Linked DNA regions of Homo sapiens: region 1 is linked to region 2. The links are contacts of gene promoters, found by promoter capture Hi-C in blood cells and fetal thymus (Javierre and others, 2016). All regions are on one chromosome and are shown on one strand. The core of a region is centred on a gene start or on the middle of the fragment in contact, and the rest is flanking DNA. Distances in the headings are between cores, read along the strand shown. Region 1 holds the start of SLF2 (SMC5/6 complex localization factor 2). Region 2 holds the start of GOLGA7B (golgin A7 family member B).

Region 1 (3,237 bases), core at 12-2,511, 3.1 Mb before region 2:
ATTTTAGGAAGGGGATAACTTGGATGTATTATGGAAAGTCCCCAGTGGGGTCTGGTGCTGCAACCTGTAATCAAATCCACTGACATTTCTCCAGCAAAACATGAATATTCACACTTAATGGGATAAAGACCACAAACAGCCTTACATTAGTTTTAGTCAGATCTGGCTGCCCAGTAAGATGTGGTGCCAAACTTACTGAAAACGTTTTGGTTTTCATAGCTTTCTGGCTTTCAGAGTTAAGATAAGGGATTGTGGGCCTGTACCACAGTATTAGTAACATGAATATTGTTAAAACTTAATACAATTTAACTTAAAATAAAAGACAGTACCAAGTTCGTAGGGAATTTAAACATGTTTTATTGTCAGAGGATGTCATTAGATGAAACTCCCCATCTCATTACATAGCTCCCACAAAATCTTTACAAAAAAATTAGCCTCTTGGAGAGGCGTGAAGTTACTGAAAGAGAAAACACGTCACATTCCAAATCTGCAAGTTCTTTTAAGTATGAACTAGCGTGCACGCTGGACTACAAAGTAATTCGTGGAAGGGATTCCCTCATCACAGGTTACATAATTTCACCCACAACATAGAAAAGGTTTATATTACTAAACCACTAGGATCAGTAGAACTGACAACGTACAGAAAACGATCTAAATATGCATTAAGCAGTTAGGGTCCCGGGTCAAACTCTTGCAAAGGAAAAAAATCACTTTCTTTCTACCTAAGGCGGGTTCTCCGTAGCTGTCCAGGCTGGTGGTCACTAGACCAAGAGCAGCTGCCCAACTACAGAGAAGCAAACTCCAACTCCCAGTAGCCCCTGCGCGGAGGCGGGGCGGGGATTTGCCAGGCCCCGAAATGCCAACGCCTGAGCTCGCGGAGGATGGCGGGAACTGGAAGAGCGGCGGTCTGCAGCCCTCCCCTCATACCCTTGCCCCCGCGACCCGGCCCCTTCTCAAGCCCTCTGCACGGTACCTGTCCCCAGGACTCTCTGTTCTCTTTCCCGCTGCAGCATGGGCGGTACTACCGGGTCTCAGATGGCAGCGCGGGGGCGACGACCCCGGGGCTGGGGATGAGGGGAAACCTGGCCTAGCGGGCATGCAGCGCCTTGTCATGTCGGCGCCGCTGGCGACGGCGGCATGAGCCGTGGCTGGAGAAGTTGGGTGCGTGGTTGCCGTCTTGCTGCTGGGACTCCGGGAGGCTGTCGGAGCAGAGGTGGGCGGCACCCCCTTCTCTCTTCATGGCGGTTCTCTCTTCGGAAGTGACTCCGGCGTGAGCGGGAAGGAACCTGGGGACCAGTAAGGGGCGGGTCTTACTTCATGAATCACGTCTTGATTGGCTGGCACGGTGGTCATTTCGGTGGTGGCGCAATAGGAAGCCGCAGCCTCTCTGGAGAAGGCGGGGCTTGGGGACGGGGGAGGAAGAAACCTCCCCCTCCCACCCCGTCACATGCACTGAGGGCGCGCGCCTCTGGTCCCGGCCGCCTCGGCCTTGGCCGGCGCGCGGGGGCGGAAAGGCGCGGGCAGCAGCTGGCGGACAGCTGACGACACCCGCCTGGTTGAAGGCGAGGGGTGAGGGTTTGCTGAAGCAAACCGGAGCCCGGCAGCTGCCTTCGTTGAGGATGGCCAACACTTGGGCTTCCTGTGTCACACAATTGTGCCTCAGAAATCCGCAGCTGTTCATTACATCGTCTCTTTAACAGCTTAGGCCAAAGTGCCATAATACTGTCACAATTTGCTGAGGGATCTGCACAGCGCGATCCGAAGACTTGTCCATTCTACGACGGTTCTTGTTGAGTGTCAGCGGTAGATTATTTTTTTGTCTTTAAGAAGAAGAAAAAACCCCCAAAAAACTCCATTGGAATAAAGACAGTTGTTAATCCACAAAAGCATTTTGTTTCTCATGAGTTACCATGAAGTCTCTGCAGCCGACTTCCTTGGAGATTTTTTAAAGGAACACAAGGTCAGCTTTCAGTTTTCCATGTTAAGCGTGGGCAGCATAGATAAGTAAAAGCTGCCTGCAATCTCCAACCCTCCTTTGTAAAGGGCTTGTGCTCTGGAGGCTGTTAGCCATGGTTTTCCTTATAAACCGAGAGACTGGTCAGTATCTCTGAACCTCAGCCTCCACATCTGTAAAACGGGCATTTTACTCACTTTTCTGGGTAATTGTAAACCATAAAAGGATAAAACAGTGTACACTGCACAGTTCAGATTCTCTCATGTAACAGGTACAGAGCAAATTATAGTTCCCTTTCTTCCCCAGATAGATTCCTACAGCGAATTTTACTTCTTTACAAAATCTTCCAGAGACAGGTCAAATACTGTTGCAATAACTGTTAACAACCAAAATATCAATTTCAAGATGTCCAAGCTTTAATTGACAGAGTTATTTAATCAGTTGGATGGAAAAAAATCTTAAATGATATAAAATAATTTGGACGGGTCTTTCAAGTTTATTGTATAGAAATTGAACTATTGGCCTGATACAGTTGCTCACATCTATAATCCCAGCAGTTTGGGAGGCCAAGGCAGGTGGATAGCTTGAGCCCGGGAGTTGGAGACTAGCCTGGGCAACATAGCAAGACCCTGTCTCAAAAATAAATTAATTAATTAAAATTTAGAAAAAACGAAATTGAACTGTTCTGGTCACTAAGCATGCCTGACTGACTCCAAGTTCACCTCCTTTTCCCTTCCCCTTTAGTCCCCGGGAGGAAGAATTAATAAGGAATAAAGTGGACAAAAAGCTGGCAAAGTAGAGGGTCGAAGGTAAACAGTGAATATACAGGTTTCACATTCACCCCAAAAGCACATATGTACAGCTGTATACTAGCTAATGGTGGCGGAAGAAGGGAAGTGCCAAAATAGAGGGTACTTTTCTGCTCCTAATAGCGGAGAATTTACTATACGTAACATTGTTTTTTACATAAAAAAACATGATACTCAAAATGTGTTGAATGACTTACACATTTGCATTTTACATGTATTATTTCCTATCTCTTAGTGCTTTCTGTTGGATGTTTTTACACTAGGAAGTTTCTGTACTATAACAGAGCACATCTACGAAACATTTAATCCGATTCATTTCCTTGCATGCCTAATCGATAAAGAGTAATGCATAAAAACACGTTCTGCATGATCATTTAGTTGCTTTTCTTGGATTATAGTACTTGAATCATCCAGCCTCCAAAGTATCACTTTAAAGCCTGTACTCAAACTACCAAACAATAGTTTTCTCATTTT
Region 2 (3,118 bases), core at 465-2,964:
TGCATTCCTCTACTCTAGAAACCAAGCTCCCAGGGTCTGCCCAGGGCTTGCCCTCACACCAAGTCCTGAGGGGCAACTCTCCGCCTAGCTAACCTTGTGCCTTGTCAGAATGCCAAGCAATGCCAAGCAACAGCACCTTGTTCTGTGGTGGAAACTTGAGTGGAATAACAACAGCCACACTTGGTATTAATGTCACACTGCTCACCAGGATGCCCAGAAGCACTGCATTGAATCATTCACAGGCCTCTGCTCTCCCCCAGTGTATGCCAGCTGGATTGGAAATGGGGAGACACCACAAAGGAAGTCAACATCAGAACTGGGGAGACCCTGATGTCCTGAGTTTCGCTCCAAAAATTCAAAGGCAAAAACTTTCCGCTCTGCTGCTGACATGCTGTGTGGAGTAGCAAATTAGTCCTTTCGTTTTCCACACATCACCTTTATCATGTATAAAGTGGGAACATAAAGAGCCCAATCTCCCTCCTGAAATGAGGGGGGAAAGGGCAATCCCTAGGGGTAGAGGGGGGAATCCTCGACCTCAAGCATTATACCAAGATTCTGCCCTTAGCTAACAGGCCCCGTGGTTCAGCCTTCAAGTGCTTGAAGGTGACACACCTATCAGTGCACCTTGAAGAAGGCAGAAACTCCCATCAGATGGAGGGGAAATCTGGACACCCTGGGACAAAAAAAAAAAAAAAACTCGAATGGGGTAAAAAAGCAAGAAGGGTGATATGCAAAAGTGGAGACCAACCATTTGGGTTCTCAGCCTGAGGATGTCTTTGTCCCCTCCCTCCCGCAAAGGAAATGCGGATGTAGAGGTAAGTCTGTCATCCCTTAGCCAAGCTTTTGGGTTCAGAAGCTGACTGCATAGCAACAGCGGACAGCCGCCTTCCCTCCCCTCACACACGCACACACACGCGTCTCCAACCCTCTAGGAAAGCGGTTTCAGGACTTGTGAAGTCCAGGGAAGGGGAAACCCCAGCCTGGGGCCCTGAAGCAACCCTGGCGCTAATGCCAACAAGTGTCGCGGACAGCTTGGGGGCTCAGGTGGGGCGAGGGGAAGATTGACACGCAAGGGGGAGATGAGCCCTCACTAAGCCCCTACCTCCTCCCTCCAGACCTGACCTGGGGAATCACCCCATCCCACCCCCAACTCCCGCCTCCCACTCCTGCCCAGCCCACCCCTAGGGCATTTGGTCCCGCGGCAATCGGGCACTGCCTGCGGGTGGGGCGCTCGCCCCTACCTCGGTGGCCATGATCCGGGGGCGCTCGGAGGCTGTCGCGGGGCCGGGCGAGGGGGGTCTCCGCGGTGCTGACCCCGGGAGCAGGTGGGCGGCGGCGGTGGCGGCGAGCTGGGGCCCGGGGCGCTGTCCGCAGTGCTGATGCGGGCGCCGCGGGCCCGGGCTCAGGTGGGCCGGGGGCGGGCGGGCGGCTGGGTCCAGGCAAGGGGCGCGGCGCTGTCCGCTGTGCTGAGGCAGGCGCCGGGCCCGGGAGGCGAGGCCGCGCCCGAGGCTCCTCACGGCCCGATCGCCCGCTGCCGCGGCTCCTGCAGGCAACGGCCGGGTTTAGCTTTGGCGGCGGCGGCGGCGGGGATGGGGGCGGCCGGGGGAGGAGGGGCCAGGAGCCGCCGCTGGCCGGGAGGGGGAAGCCGCGGCCCCCAGACTCCGGCGCCGCCGGAGAGGAGCCCCGCCCGGGCCACAGGCTCGGCTACCGCCCCGCGCGAGGCCCCGCCTCCCCTTCCTGCCCTCCCCCTCGTGAGAGCCCCGGAGCTCTGCGCTCGCTTCCGTGGCCCCCGGGACATCCAGCCTGAAGGACAGTGGGGCAGGAATTTTTCCGGGGCAAGACGCTTCAGCCTGCAAGGCTGACCGCTCCCGAGCCGCTCGCAGGCCCGCAGGTGAGGCCTCTCTACCTTTCCAGCCACCCCCAGTGCCCCGGCTCTACCCCTCCCTCGCCCCGCCCCCAGCTTCCTCTTTAGAATAATTTCTTTTCTTTCTCTCCCTTTTCCTCTCTGTGTGCCCCCCCCCCATATACACACAGTCAGGCTTGCACGGACGGCCCCTCTTTTCCCCTCTCCTTTGCACTTCCTGGAACCCCACTAGCTAGACAAAGATCCTGCCGACCGCAGAGAATCATTTCCTTTCTTTAAATACGTGCCCACATTTCGTTCTCAGCCATAGCCTGGGGTCCCTTCTTTCAGGCAGCTCCAGAATTGAAGCCAGTCTCTCCTTGCTGCTCTTCCTGGACCTGGTCCCCACCCTTTACTCTTCCCTCTCTCCTCTGCAACCCGAGTTTACATACACGCACCACCACTACCACCACCACTCAAAAACCACAAGCAGATGGTGCCAAACCGGTATGCTCACTCTCCAAGGATGGCAGGTCTGGCTCTGGTGCCACCTTCGCACTTTTGACATCATAAATTCCAACTAAATGATCTATTTGTTTAATAAAAAGGAGACCAGGTGCAGTGGCTCACACCTGTAATCCCAACACTTTGGGAGGCTGAGGTGGGAGGATTGCTTGAGCCCAGGAGTTCAAGACCAGCCTGGGCAAGACCCTGTCTGCACAAAAAATGAAAACATTAGCCGGGCGTTGTGATGTGTGCCTGTGGTCCCAGCTACTCAGAAGGCTAAGGCAGGAGAATCACTTGAATCCAAGAGTTCAAGGCTGCAGCTAGCCATGATTGTGCCACTGTACTCCAGCCTGGGCAATAGAGCAAGAGCCTGTCTCTTAAAAAAATAAAAATAAGGCCGGAAGCAGTGGCTCATACCTGTAATCCCAGCACTTTGGGAGGCCGAGACGGGTGGATCACCTGAGGGCAGAAGTTCAAGACCAGCCTGGCCAACATGCTGAAACCCCATCTCCACCAAAAATACAAAAAAAAATTAGCCAGGCATGGTGGCACCCGCCTGTAGTCCCAGGTACTCAGGAGGCTGAAGCAGGAGAATTGCTTGAACCCGGGAGGCAAAGGTTACAGTGAACTGAGATCACACCATTGCACTCCAGCCTGGGCGACAAGAGCGAAACTCTGTCTCAAAAAATAAATAAATAAATAAATAAATAAAATAGACATAAAAAAAAGGAAACACCAACACAAGTGCCTTTTTACATACCCATAATA

The links. The method cuts DNA at HindIII sites, captures the fragments that hold promoters and counts their contacts. A CHiCAGO score of 5 or more calls a contact.
Region 1: the fragment with the promoter of SLF2 here is called in contact with the fragment with the promoter of GOLGA7B in region 2 in 1 of 17 cell types (M0 macrophages); the score reaches 5.2 in M0 macrophages.

The regions. Positions count from the first base shown.
Region 1 is chr10:100,910,987-100,914,223 of GRCh38, reverse strand. It overlaps SLF2 (SMC5/6 complex localization factor 2), which reads right to left and starts at 1,261. Exons shown (of 20, transcript NM_018121.4): 1 at 974-1,261. The coding sequence starts at 1,113. RefSeq lists enhancers at 1,112-1,161, 1,182-1,251 and a silencer at 1,472-1,741. The HindIII fragment of the contact is 2,989 bases long and covers 1-2,370 here.
Region 2 is chr10:97,848,439-97,851,556 of GRCh38, reverse strand. It overlaps GOLGA7B (golgin A7 family member B), which reads right to left and starts at 1,714. Exons shown (of 5, transcript NM_001010917.3): 1 at 1,242-1,714. The coding sequence starts at 1,253. It overlaps GOLGA7B-DT (GOLGA7B divergent transcript), which reads left to right and starts at 1,759. Exons shown (of 3, transcript NR_108035.1): 1 at 1,759-1,891. The HindIII fragment of the contact is 7,033 bases long and covers 843-3,118 here.